Linked DNA regions of Homo sapiens: region 1 is linked to region 2. The links are contacts of gene promoters, found by promoter capture Hi-C in human tissues and cell types (Jung and others, 2019). All regions are on one chromosome and are shown on one strand. The core of a region is centred on a gene start or on the middle of the fragment in contact, and the rest is flanking DNA. Distances in the headings are between cores, read along the strand shown.

Region 1 (7,741 bases), core at 251-2,750, 170 kb before region 2:
GGTAGTCTTGTAAATAAGTTTTACTACTATTTCAATTTTGCAGAGGAAAATATGAGGCTCAGAGAATTTATATAATGTCACCAAAGACAAATCACATGTAACTGGAGTTGTCTGGATTCCAGCTCACATATTTTTGATCCAAAATGGATACTTTTCTATTCAGCCATGCTGCTACCTATGGTATAATGTAATTATACCATATTGTCTGATATAATCAGTATCATAGACATCGGAAAACCCTGGAGATGAGGTCCAGCCCTAACATTCTGTGATCCTTCTGATGTCCTAAAAGACAGGGAAGTAAATTATACATTTTCATGTATATAATTAATGTGAATTGGATTTTTTAAATAAGTTGACAGATTTTATACTCTTTGTCAAAGTTATAATGATATTTTTTTGAAATCCTACTATATCCAAAGCAAACGGTTGGATTCTCAGGATATAGGAAAACTTAGATACAGTCTTTGGGCCTTAGAAGTTTATAATTTCAGTAGGGAGATTAGATTAACATAAAAATGGAAATGTCATGCAAAAGTAGCATATACAAATTCTTCCAAAGAATACGAAAACAAAGAACACTTCCCAACTTGTATTATGAGGCCAGTAAAACCTTTCTGCCAAACCAAATGTGATAGCTTGATACCAAACCTGACAAGGACATCACAAGAAAAGAGAATTACAGGTCAATCTCTCTCATGACATTGGATACAAAAAATTCTGAACAAAATGTTCACAAATTTAATCTGGTAATATTATAGGCTAATACATTGTGGCCAAGATGAGTTTATTCTAAGAATTTAAGGTTGGTTTATCATTTAAAAATCAGTGTTATTTACCATATTAACAGTAAAACATGTCATCTTGATATATAAAGGAAAGAGTTTGATAAGATTTATCATGCATTCATGATAAAAACTCTTAGCAAATTAGTAGAATTCAGTATAATGACTGCCTTTGGGAATTAGGGAAGAGAAATGATTAGGTAGAGACATGAAGAGACCTTCTAGAGTGCTGGCAGAGGTTCATTACTTTTTCTTTTATTGTGGCAAGACCACTTAACATGAGATCTACCCTCTTAACAAAATTTTAAATGTATAATACATTATCATTGACTATAGGTGCAATGTTGTAGAGCAGATCTCTAGAGCTTGTCCAGCTTGTTTGACTGAAGCTTTATGCCAGTTGATTAGTAACTCCCCATCCACCTCACCCTGCACCAGCAACCATCATTCCACTCTGATTCTAAGTGCTTCATTTCTTAACCTTGATGGTGGTTACGAGGATGTTTCCTTTGTGACAAATTATTAAGCTTTATTTTTATGCTTTATATACTTTTCTCTATGTTCTGTACTTCCTAAACATAAAAAATAGCAAGACTTTCTTCAACCCTAGGATCAACCACTGTTAAAAGATTTTTAATGAATCCTTCCAGAAATACTCTATCCAATGTAATATATACATATGTTTGCCCTTTTTGTAAAACACCCAGGAAAATTTTATATATAAATATATGTATATATTGGCCCGGTGCGGTGCCTCATGCCTGTAATCCCAGCACTTTGGGAGGCAAAGGCGGGTGGATCACTTGAGGTCAGGAGTTTGAGACCACCCTGGCCAACATGGTGAAACTCTGTCTCTCCTAAAAATACAAAAAATTAGCTGGGTATGATGGTGAGCACCTGTAATCCCAGCTATCAGGAGGCTGAGGCAGGAGGATTGCTTGAACCCGGGAGGCAGAGGTTGCAGTGAGGCGAGATCGCACCATTGCACTCCAGTCTGGGTGACAGAGTAAGACTTCGTCTCAAAAAAAAAATTATACACACACACACATACACACACATCTTTCCCCTTGCTTTGCTTTTTCACTTAAAACCATAAATTGGGAATCATTCCATGTCAGCACATCTACATATACTGAATTCTCTTTAATGGCTGCCTTGTTTTCTAATATACGGTCATACTATAATGCCCAATTATAGATTTTGGTGTGATGGTAATGTTCTAAAATTGGCCTGACTATTGGACATTTCAGTTGTTTCCAGGGTTTTGTATAATATCAGTTTTAATACTTAATAATATTTCTTTATAAGGATATGCTATACTTTATTTAACTAGACCTCTATGATGGAAATGTAGGTTGTTTTCAAGTTTCCACTATTATAAAGAAGGCTCTGATGAATATTCTTGTAGACAATTATTTTCATACTTATTCACTTTTTTATTTAACATAAATCCCAGAACATAAAGTTACTGGGTTAAAAGATATGATAACTTTACTTTTGAAATACACTGCCCAATCCGGAAAGATTTTACCAGCAATGCAGCAACATTGCATGAGAGGATCTATTTTCCTACTACTGAAGTTCTATCAATCTTTTAAATCTTTCCTAATCTGAAAGATGTTGTCATGGCCATTTCTTTAATTATTAGATAGTTTAATTAGATAGTTTAAATGTTTAATCTTTTCCATGTCTTTTATTGATCACTTGCATTTTTTGATTTGGCTGTATATCAACTCAGCTCATTTTCTCCTGGAGTATTTATCAATCATCTTATTACTTTATAAGAACTCTTCATATGCTAACCATTCATCTATTATATGTTGCAAATATTTATCCCTGCTCAAACTAATTTTCTGTTTGACTTCTTTTAAACTAACAATTGTGAAGCAAAAGTCACTTTAGTCATATTTAATCACATATAGCATAGGATCATTATATGTGCATTCAATTTTATCTTCCTTGAGTTGAAAATACTCTATAATCTCTCATTTCATTTTGAAGTACTTGGACACAGGGAGCCTCATAGACTCAGGGATTTTACTTAGCATCTCTCAGGAGATCTCCACTAAATGGATCCCAGGGTTCTCTTGTCTACTACAGGTGTGACCTTTTATCTTTAGACGCTTACTCAGAGGAACCAAAACTGTGACTGATTTGCATTGTAAGCAGGAATATTTTTTCTTTCTTTCTTTTTTTTTGTGGTGAAAGCAAGTTTATTAAGCAACTAAAGGAATAAAAGAATCACTACTTCATAGGCAGAGCAGCCAGCAGGAATATTTTTTCCAATAGCATTTGTGCAGTAAGACATACACTTTTGAATCATGAATAATGTAACTTACCATCTGTTTAGCACTTGGAAAGTTTCAAAGAACTGTACCATGATCCATATGATAGGCCATTTAACTCTGTTAAGTAAGGTACAACTGCCAACTTCTTAGACCAGAGCCCTGCCTCTCAGAGACTTCCTGGAGCCTAGCTATAGGAGTGTTTACTTAGGACTCTAGACTTTATGTTATATCAAAGAGATATGGAAGATTTCACTTTTATAGTATATTAACATTGTCCCCATTTCATCTTTGGACCTTAAAACACCAAGCATCATCATCATCATCATCATCAACAACAACTACACAAAACTGTTGAGGGGCACAGTCATTGGGTGGATAGGCTTAGGTTCATTCAGCCCTTCTGGATCTTGGGTCAGCCACTGGTATTGACAATAGGGATGAATTTTCAATCTTGAAGGACATATAAATTTGTTAAGAATAAAAGAAGTGCAGTTAGTCTGGCAAATTGTAAATAACCTTAAAACTTTTCTCCCTAAAGAGAGATGATTGTATCACTTTCTTATGAGCATCTTTACAGTGCCTGACATAAAGGAGGCAAGTAATTGGATTGGGTTGAATTAGTGAACTACCTTCATCTGTAAAGCAGCCATTTTCCCCTAGTGTTAGTACTATATTTGGATGAATTAACAACTGGTTGTTAATTTTGACTGTATTTATATAAATTAAAGTGAAGCAAGACCCTGTGGAATTTATTTGTGACCATCAAAGACCATAAATCTCTTACATTTTAAGTAAGTTACAGAGAAAGTAAAATTGGTGATGAGTCCTGTGGTTACAAAGGCATTCAGAGATTATCTGATTATTTCTTCTTCTGATAAAATTATGTTATTGCTTTGTAAAATATAAGCAAAAATCTAAGCAATCAGGACTCTTTATGCTGTCAAGACCTTTTCATTGTAATGAAAGTGCTCCTTTTTATTTTTATAATTTAATTTGTATTTATATTTATTTTCATGACAAAATATTTTAATTCTCATCAGGTTTTATAAATAGTTCTTCAAATGTCACTATGGTTTAAATTTGGTGATAAAGCAGAGAATTTGGATAAAAGAAAATTTGGTGATAAAGGAAGAAATTTATTGGAAAAATTTAAAAGATGTAGATTTTTTAGGGATAGTTCACAGAAACCTATGTGTTAATGCAGGGTGCTTTTATATTTAGAAGTTTTCATTGATTTTCTTCAATTATTTGGGATAATATTGTTACCTATTGACAGCGATGTTACATCTCTCACACACACATGATTAGATGTATTGTTAATGTACCACTTAAAATTTTTTTCCAACTTTTAATTATGAGAAAATTTCAAAAGGATAGAAGAGGCAAGAATAGGCAATGAACATGTATGTCTTTCACATAGATCCTTGGAAACATTTTGCCACATTTGCTTTATCTTTCTCTCTACTTTTTTTTCTGAGCCATTTGGGAATTAATTGCGGACATCACCTCTGAGTACATCAATATTCATCCCCTCAAAGCAAGGCATTCTTTAATATGCCACACTATATCATTGGAACATTTAACATTGATATAATATTATTATCTAATATGCAGTTCATATTCAAATTTCCCAATTGTCTCAATAGTAATGTCCTTTAGAACTTCTTTTTCTTGTTCTTTTTCTTTCTTTCTTTTAATTTTTTCTGATTGAGAATTTACTTATTCAAGATAATTGAATACATTCTGGATCTGAAAAATTAAAAAGAAAGGAATTAAATACTACTCATAATAATACTCAGTTTTACCAATAATTGGATTTAATTAATATCATCATTGCATTTAGTTTTTTTTTCATTTTTTTAGTTTACTTTATTTTAGAACAGTTCCCCAGCATTTTTTTGTCTTTTATGACACTGACAATTTTGAAGCGTCCAGGCCAAATTTTTTTGTTCAAATTTCCTGAATTTGGATTTGTCAGACGGTTGCCTTATTATTAGATTGAGACTAAGGTTTTTTGCCCCAAGAATACTGTATAGGTGATGGATGTCCTTCTTGGTGAATTGCATCACATGGTTTCTGTTTCTCCAATTGTACTTAACATTATTTAATACACAGAGATAGGTAGAGATCTGCTGTCTATCAAAATAATGCCATAGTTTAGGTATGTCATATGAATTCCCCTTTATAAAGGTGGAGTTTTTGTTAATAAAAGTTCTTTAAAAGTGTATTAAAAGTGATGATAGAGACTATAACATAGTCTTCTATTACATGTTTTAATTAATAATGCATGTTTGTCAAATGAGTGAAAAATAGCAATGACTTAAAAATCACAAATTCTCAATTTTGTCAAGGAATTTCAATTCATTATTGCACTGCTATTTAAGTCTGTTCATGTTCTTCATTGTTTTGTTTAGGAAACAAAATGTACTAAGCTTGGAATAAACTGTTTGAGATGTCTAACATAAAAATAACCAAAGCAGATGTAATTTTATACTGCCACTGTGTATATAGGGTTACATTATTTCACTTGCAGTCACTTAGGGTTTGTATATATCACATTTCAGTATAATGACATGGGCAGGCTCCAAAGAAAATACCAAGCAACGCGAATTTGGTTTGACTAACAAATATTTACATGTCTTTGTGTCTGTAATTATTGTAATCTTTTAAGGGGTTTATGCTACACAGGCTTAATTCTCTAGAGCTCTGTGTTAGATTAAAAGAGGCTGATCAGTAGTATATATAACTGTAAAAATGATACTGTAGCCCGTCTAGATAAATTGGTATAAGCCAGAGCTTCTGCAGGGAACAGGTGGACTTAAGAGAGCCCTGACATGGGCAGATAGCTGCCTTTCATGTGCATGCTTTCTTATGTGTTTTAGCCTTTTCTTTCTTTCCAGATGGGTGGTGTTGATGGAACCATCATTTGATTGTTATTTGATCTTTTCAGGTTTCTCTAGTCATGTAGTTAGCACATTGGAAGCAAGAAAAGATAAACAGTACAGTCCTTTCCTCATCTATAGGAGGCAGACAGATAGTTGTATTGCTGGTACTGAACCATTCACGTATATTTGCTTACTCAGTACCATCCGTGTCAATTTGCAAGCTTTAGCCAGATGTAATTGGTTAAATAGATTCTCCCCTGTTGCCCCCTTGATTAAAGCTCCTTGGCCTGTAAGATGTCAATATCCTATTAACTTTTAACTTCACTATAGCGCTTCTTAGTTTGTATTGTAAAGATGTTTCCCTCTAGACCATCATGGGGTTTTCAAGCATAGAGACTATTTATTTTTTAAATGTTTGGATCCCCATAGACTCAAATCACAACTGATTTAGATCAGGCAGTATGGTGCCTAACTGAATTAATTAAAAAAATGTAATCTCATTTGCAACATAATTTCCTGGTGATGACATAAATAATTATTTGAGTTTTAACTTGAGATTCTATCAATTTTACAATTTGGTTTAATCCAGAGGATTTATTCATTTATCCACATTGACTGAGGAGTTATTATGTTCCAGGCAGGGTTGATCCACTGGTCTCTCTCCTGCCTCTCTTATGGCTGATGTCTATTCTGAGTTGTTGGTGTCTCTGCCACACTGGCTGGTGACTGTCATTATTAGTTTTAGGCATTTGTGCTAGTTGCTGGGTTCCGCCTAGTTGCTAATAGGCTTTGTCTGTTATATACAGACATAAATCCCATAAATTTAAGCATGTGAATTAGTAAAGTTGTCATAGTAACAGTTCTAGTAAAGACTGTTCCTCTTGGATGTCACACTTGAACCCGCTGAATTTTGTCACCTGCCTCTTACATTCTCAGATGAAGGAGTTATTACACAGGGAGGTGGTAAAGGAGCAACAGAGGCAAAGAAATGGGATGCACTCATATAATATAATTGGCTACCCAAAATGGAGATGTTTCTAAAGGCATAAATATCTCTGGATGCATGTGGAAACCTCTCTTTTATCCCTGATTGTATTCTCCTTTAGTGTAAAGAATAGGCATTACATAGCTATTATAACTAGTAAAGTTAGAGTTTTTGTTTATCAGAAATTTAAGATCAATTAAATATTTTCTAATTAAAGTGTTGTAGTTAAAAATTATAAATATTGACTGAACACAATGGCAGTGAGAATACAGTTTTCAAGTGTGAGTTTTAGCACTGAGGGCTAGTTCATGAGCTGGGTGTTCCCAAAGCCATGGGTAGAAGTAGGAAATACAGCACAACATCTTAAATGGGTGAAACTATATTTCTTAATAACCCTAGGTTTTTCCTGATCTCATTAGAAATGATTATATGTTCCTTAAAATTTTTTTAACTGTAAAAGCAATATATTCTATTTTATAAGATTATGGATTATTTTATTTAATTTTAATTATAATTGTAATAAAATAACATTTTATTTAATTTTAATTATAATTATAATAAAATAACATTTTATTTAATTAGAAATTAAAGAAAATTATCCATAATCTTATACAACCAAATATTGGACTCACAGTCACCTTAAGTATTGTGAGGAAAATAAAATCTTTGTATCTTTAAATATTACAACTCAAAGAGACTACATTTAGCTCATATGTTGATTCAATTAACAATTTTTAATAACATATCTATTTTGTGTCAGGCACTATTCCTGGCACTGGGGTAGAGCAATTACTAAAA
Region 2 (7,530 bases), core at 4,792-7,291:
GGGCAACAAGGAAAAATCCTGTCTTTGCAAAAAATACAAAAAAATAGCCTGGTATGGTGATGCATGCCTGTAGTCCCAGCTACTCAGGAGGCGGGAGGATCACCTGAGCCCAGAAACTTGAGGCTGCAGTAAGCCATGATTATGCCACTGCGCTTCAGTCTGGGTGACTCTCTTAAAAAAATAATGACAAAGCTGGAGGCATCATGCTACCCGACTTCAAACTATACTATAAGGCTACAGTACTAAAACAGTATGGTACTGGTACAGAAAGAGACACATAGACCAATGGAACAGAATGAGCCCAGAAATAAGGCTGCACACCCACAACTATCTGATCGTTGACAAATCTCACAAAAACAAGCAATGAAGAAATAACTCCCTATTCAATAAACGGTGCTGGGATAACTGGCTAGTCATATGAAGCAGACTGAAGCTGGACCCCTTCCTTGCACCACGTACAAAAATAAACTAAAGATGGATTAAAGACTTAAATGTAAAACTTAAAACTATAAAAACCCTGGAAGATAACCTAGTAAATACCATTCTGGACATAGGAACTAGCAAAGATTTCATGACAAACATGCCAAAAGCAATTGCAACAAAAGCAAAAATTGACAAATGGGATCTAATTAAGCTAAAGAGCTCCTGCACAGCAAAGGAAATTATCAACAAAGTAAACAGACAACCTACAGAACAGGAGAAAATTTTTGCAAACAATGCATCTGACAAAGATTTAACATCCAACATCTATAAGGAGCTTAAACAAATTTATAAGCAAAACCAAACAGCCCCATTAAAAAGTGGGCAAAGGACATGAACAATTTTGAAAAGACATACATGTGTCTAAAAAACATATGAAAGAATGCTCAATACTGCTAATCATTAGAGAAATGCAAATAAAAAACACAGTGAGATACTATCTCAGATCAGTCAGAATGGCTATTACTAAAAAGTCAAAAAATAAACGCTGGCAAGCTTGCAGAGAAAAGGGAACACTTACACACTGCTGATAGGAGTGTAAATTAGTTCAACCATTATGGAAAGAAGTGTGGCAATTCCTCAAAGAACTAAAGACACAATTGCCATTTGACCCAGCAATCCTATTACTGGGTATGTACCCAAAGGAATATAAATCATTCTACCATAAAGACACATGCATGTGTATGTTCATTGCAGCACTATTCACAATAGCAAAGATATGGAATCAATCTAAATGCCCTCAATGGTAGACTGGATAAAGAAAATGTGGTACATATAGACTATGGAATACTTTGCAGCCATCATGTCCTTTGCAGGAACGTGGATGGAGCTGGAGGCCATTATCCTTAGCAAACTAACACAGGAACAGCAAATCAAATATCATATTCTCCCACTTATAAATAGAGCTAAGTAGTGAGAACAAATGGACACAAACAGAGAACAACAGATACTGGGGTCCACTTGAGGGTGGAGGGAGGGAAGAGAAAATATAACTATCAGGTACTATGCTTAGTGCTTCGGTGATAATCTGTACACTGAACCCTTGTGACATGAGTTTACCTGTATAACAAATCTGCACATGTACCCCTGAACCTAAAAGATCAAAAAAAGAAAAAAAAAGAAATATGTGTTGGACCACAATTTCAGATATGCAAAGAATAACATATAAATTTATATTTATAAATATAAATCAACCTAGCTTTAATTTTGAGAATTCTGCTCTTCCAGTTTGGTAAAAAACTTAACTTCAGTTATTCTAGGGTTTCCCTCTTCTGTTTCAAGATGGGATAGATTTCAAGAGTTTTATGTATGGCCAAAGCTAAGGCATCTGGGTGTTGAGTCATTCGTCTACCCTGATTCCTCTTCTGGGGTATTCATTCACTCTGTTCACACAGTTTCTACAGTTCTGAACTCCCTCCTACTTCCAGAATTATTTTAAAATATGGGAATGTTTATGAGGGGTCCTTATGGACCTATTTGTTCAGACACATGAGGCAGCCCTGATTCTCTGGAGTATTGCTGCCTCTGCTATGTGCGGTGGTGCTGTGTACAGATAAATATACAAGCATGGCTCCCCAAATATGGGGGCCATAAATTTTCTCTATGCTCCCAGGTCCATGGGACTCTGTGATAGCTTCCCTGGGCTGCTTCTCAAATGCACTCTAGTGCTTCCTTTATTTTCAGTGCGCTTGGCATGACCTTTTGAAAGGGATTCATGTTTTACCCTAGTCAGGAAGCATTTATGACTTTTTTCCCTCAACCTTTCCTTTCCAATATCTTTTTGAAAATATGAAGAACAGAAAAAAATGGGATAAATGAACACAGTTTAATATTTCATAAGCCCATTCTGCCAATAGGAATTAAGTTTTGACCAGAACAGAGGCAGAGTAAAATTCTGATCATGTCACTCTTCTGCTTACCATATTATAATGGCTTCCTATTGCTCCTGGAATACAGATCATATGCCTTAATAAAACACATGGAGATCCTGCCTGCCTCTCCAACCTCTTCATGCACCACAGTCCCTTCTCATTCTCTCTACTGGGACCAAACCTGTGTTTCACTGTGAAAAGGACAGGTTTTTTTATTATTATTATTTTTTTATTTTTTATTTTTGTATAGTACCTCTTCACCTGGTTAACTCCCATTCATGCTGTAAAGTTGCAGCTTTAGTGGAATTCTTGCAGGGAAAGCTTACATATTGCCACTTATTATAGATACTCATGGCACTATGTATCTTTTCTTTGTAGCACTTGTCCATGATGGTTACCTTCTCTCATAAGAAGAGAAATGCAAAGGATAACTACAATTTAATGGCATTTTCACTTGTCAGACTAATAAAACTCCAAATGTTTTCACAATAAATTTTTTGAAATAAATGAGTACTCTTACCTACTGCTGGTGGGATTATAAAACTAGCACAACCTCTGTGGAGGATAAGTTGGCAATATCTTTTTTTTAATACCTTTTGTCCCAGGCAGTCTACTTCTGGAAATTGATCCTATAGATTTATTTTCGTAGTATAAAATGACATATTTTGTCTTTATTCATTACAGCATTTCTTTGGTAATAGAAAAGTACTGAAGAAAATTAAATGTTCCTCAATAGGAGGCTGCTCAAATACACTGTGATATACCCATTCGGTGGAATACCCTGTAGCTATAACAAAAACAAAAATGTGAGAAGCTTCCTAAATAATGAGATAGGAAGATTTTTCTGTTAAAAAAAAATACAAAAAAATGCATATGACGTGCTACCTTTTGTATAAAAAGGGTAAAAGTAAAAAATAATATGTATGTGTATATACATATACACACAAACATATGTATCCAGTTTGCCTGTACAAGCATAGCGAAACTCTGAAAAGATACACAAGAAACTAATAAAAAGAATTATCTATGTTTTGGGGAAGAATGAAAACTGACAGGATATGGAACAGAATAAGATGTAAGAATGAAAAGTAATGAAAATATTTAATTATGTTCCCTTCTACTGATTATATTATACATGATTATGAACGAGGCAAAGTTTTGTTTTTCTTTTTCAGATGGAGTCTCGCTTTGTCACCTAGGCTGGAGTGCAGTTGTGCGATCTCTGCTCACTGCAAGCTCTGCTTCCCAGGTTCACACCATTTTCCTGCCTCAGCCTCCCGAGTAGCTGGGACTACAGGCGCCCGCTACCATGCCCGGCTAATTTTTTTGTATTTTTAGTAGAGACGGGGTTTCACTGTGTTAGCCAGGATGGTCTCGATCTCCTGACTTTGTGATCCATCCGCCTCGGCCTCCCAAAGTGCTGGGATTACAGGCGTGAGCCACCATGCTGGGCCAGTTAATTCTTTGAAGCCAGCAATGGTGTGTTAAAAAAGAAAATTCAATCTACAAATAACAAAAAAAAGACAATAGTTCAAAGTATTCCTGTGCTTAATCTATCACTATAGGTCTATTAAAACAAGAGCAACAAACGGTTGCCAATGTATAACTTAAAACATCCAGAGGGTTACCCCATCTACAGTTGCCTAAAGTTATTCTTAGTTCCTGGAGAATTCATTTAGAAGCATAAGCATAATAAGGGCACAGTGAAATCTAAGTTTGGTTCTCCATTATAGCTGTGGTCCTAATGAATTGTGGGCCCATCCTGAATTAATAATTCTCCAATAAAAATGATAATCAAAGAATTTAAACCATTGATACAGTTCCCTTGTTGATATTAATCTGTTCATTAATATTACTTGGATCATATTTCCAAATTACAGAGTGTAATAGCATCTAATGCACTTTCATAGATCACAATTTTATTCTTTTGTTTCCCATTTTACAGTTAATCCTATGTAGCAGATATTAAGGAGGCACTAAGCACTCTTTGCTAACAAACTATCCATTTCTTTCATTTAAGTATTTAGCACTTAGTTAGCAAATGTGGACTTCTCACTTACTGATTTCTTGGTTTAAAAACTGTAGGTTCAGTATGGAACAAATGGATTTAGTAGCTCTTGAATATCTTTACACTGTAAACTTACTATTGATAACTTTTATTTCTTTAGAAGCAATATCTAAGTCCTAGGAATTCTGAGCCTGCTCATTATTGTTACCTCCCAAACTAGCGGAGTGTGATTCAGAACACAATAACATTATATTTTCTTTCCTCCTTCTCTTCCTCCTTTTAGAGAATACATGATAGGATGTTTTCAGCTTTCTAGCTTTCAACAGATGCAATGATCAAAGAGTCTGTCCCCCTCTGCTTTAATAAATGTGGAACATTCAACATTTGGCATATGAAGAGTAACTGGGTACATCTGAACTATTCTGTGCTCTTCATTCTGTTCCCTAAAGGGACAGATACAAAGAGAAATCACATAAACTATAATCCAGTTGAGTAGATTTAATTTCCTTTTCCTATTTGGTCTACATGCACCACCTGGTGGTAAAGTAGTGCATTTCACATAGAGAGAGAGAGAGAGAGAGAGAGAGTGTGTGTGTGTGTGTGTGCGCGCGCGCGCGCGTGCACGCGTGTGTGTTTTGAGGAGTATATAACATGAAAAAGATAATTTTAATATACTTTCTTAATACTGATTTAGATAGACAACACAATTATTCTACACCAAGAATCTAATACAACACTTGAGCACTACTTCATGTATAACAGAACAGGAAGTAAAGGAGAGAACTCATGCTGGAAAGTAAAATAGCTTTCACTTATTTACCTTAGCAATACATATTATAATTCCATCTCTAAATTAACATTTATTGTTCCAATATTCTTATTGAGGCAAAAATCAAACACTGATAATCAATGTGAAACCATTTCCTCCTTTTTAAAGAATAACAGCTTTTAAAAGTAGGTGCCCTGTTCCTTATATTAGTAGTGAGTATAAGTCACAGATCACAGAATTGTAAAGCACCATAGAGGCATTAGACCAATACACCAATTTTACAAATGTAGCAGCTGAGACTCTGGAACAGCAGGTAACTTGCCCGAAGTCATACTGGTCATTAGTGGTCCAACACAAATAAGAATCTAGATCTTCTCACTTTCAGCCTAGGAATATAATACATAAAAATTGTACTTATATTCATATTCAATGAATTGTCTCTGTATGATGTGATAATATTCAACTTATCTACACAGTGCTTTAAGGCACTCATATGTTAGTTAACACATACCAGTTTTGTTCTAACATTCTGAGCACAAAGAAGTAATTGAAGAAATGCATGTATCATAAAGCTATGGAAAAGATTTTCTAAGTATTAAAAAACCCTATATATATGTTCAAATGAATAATTTTCCAAGTATAATACAACTGCTATATTGCAAAGAAGGTTTAAAAAATTCCCTTTCCCCTTCTAACTGCTTCAGAACCAGAGATCTGTTTCTACAAAGTAGGTACCCACTTGTAGATTTAAGCATAAAACATGTTCATAGCTCCCTCTCATGACCATTGAATACTATACAAGCCTCCTTTTATTCTCGCTGTTGTATTCAACTAACAGCTCACTGGCTAAGTTTTAATTGCTTCCAATGAGGTCAGCAAAGGTATTTATCGAAAAGCCCTGAATAAAAGGCTCACACACACACACAAGCACACACGCGCTCACACACAGAGAGAAAATCCTTCTGCCTGTTGATTTATGGAAACAATTATGATTCTGCTGGAGAACTTTTCAGCTGAGAAATAGTTTGTAGCTACAGTAGAAAGGCTCAAGTTGCACCAGGCAGACAACAGACATGGAATTCTTATATATCCAGCTGTTAGCAACAAAACAAGTAAGTTACTGTTATTTGTCTTTTAAAACAATGCTGAATGTTTTCTAAAAGTTTATCTCTTTTTCTGATTTTAGTACTGAGCAGGAAAGTAAAGTTACAAGATTTTTGAGCCATGTAACTATAGTAATTATGCTGTAGAACATAAAGATAAGGTTGAAGTTCTCCAGAGCAATCCTGACATTTAACTTAAAAAACCTGGGCAGTTCAGGAGAAAATAATTGATTAACCACAAATGTAAAAGCATATAATAAAGAAGTCTAGGGAGAAAGCAGTTACACTTTGTTAGCAGTAATTGTAAAAACTTAATTTAAATCAATAGTTCTGAGTGCAGTATGGTTCTCACAAAATAGCAATTGGAATGAATGGTACAGTCATATTCTGTTTTGTCTCTACTCATGCATAAATTTTATAAATCTACACATAAAGTGGTAAAGATTTTGACATCCTCTGTGAAGGCTGTTTTAAATGTATCTTCAAAGAATAACCTATACTGTATTCTAATGCTACTACTTACCCACTAAAATTTACACATACAATTTTTTATCTTCCTCTCTCCTCCCCTCCCTATTCTTAATCTCTCATTGCAAACAGAAGTCAAATAGCAAACAGCGTCACAGCAACTGAACTTACTACGAACTGTTTTTATGAGGATTTATCAACAGAGTTATTTAAGGAGGAATCCTGTGTTGTTATCAGGAACTAAAAGGATAAGGCTAACAATTTGGAAAGAGCAACTACTCTTTCTTAAATCAATCTACAATTCACAGATAGGAAGAGGTCAATGACCTAGGAGTAACAATCAACTCAAGATTCATTTTCATTATGTTATTCATGAACACCCGGAGCACTACACTATAATGCACAAATGGATACTGACATGGATCCTGCCAACTTTGCTCTACAGATCATGCTTTCACATTATCTGTCTAGTGGGTACTATATCTTTAGCTTGCAATGACATGACTCCAGAGCAAATGGCTACAAATGTGAACTGTTCCAGCCCTGAGCGACACACAAGAAGTTATGATTACATGGAAGGAGGGGATATAAGAGTGAGAAGACTCTTCTGTCGAACACAGTGGTACCTGAGGATCGATAAAAGAGGCAAAGTAAAAGGGACCCAAGAGATGAAGAATAATTACAGTAAGTAATTTTAAGTACTGCTCATGAACCTTAGCAATCTGTTAATGGATCAATTTTCAGGTGATATGTTTTCTCATCTTCCTTTTGCTTCTTGGAAAAAAAATTAAATAAAATGTCACCTAATTTCTCTAAATTGAACTATGTTGA

The links. Contacts are between HindIII fragments. The study calls those that stand out against the background at their distance.
Region 1: a fragment that was not itself captured here is called in contact with the fragment with the promoter of FGF7 in region 2 in 1 of the 25 tissues and cell types used here (H1 embryonic stem cells).

What each region holds. Positions count from the first base shown.
Region 1 is chr15:49,250,460-49,258,200 of GRCh38, forward strand. The region is part of intron 5 of GALK2 (galactokinase 2); the gene reads left to right. Among named protein-coding and RNA genes, the nearest start is that of GALK2, 84 kb to the left of the region's middle. The HindIII fragment of the contact is 3,816 bases long and covers 1-3,408 here.
Region 2 is chr15:49,417,201-49,424,730 of GRCh38, forward strand. It overlaps FGF7 (fibroblast growth factor 7), which reads left to right and starts at 6,042. Exons shown (of 4, transcript NM_002009.4): 1 at 6,042-6,240; 2 at 6,832-7,383. The coding sequence starts at 7,098. All of the region lies in intron 11 of FAM227B (family with sequence similarity 227 member B), which reads right to left. The HindIII fragment of the contact is 10,247 bases long and covers 2,919-7,530 here.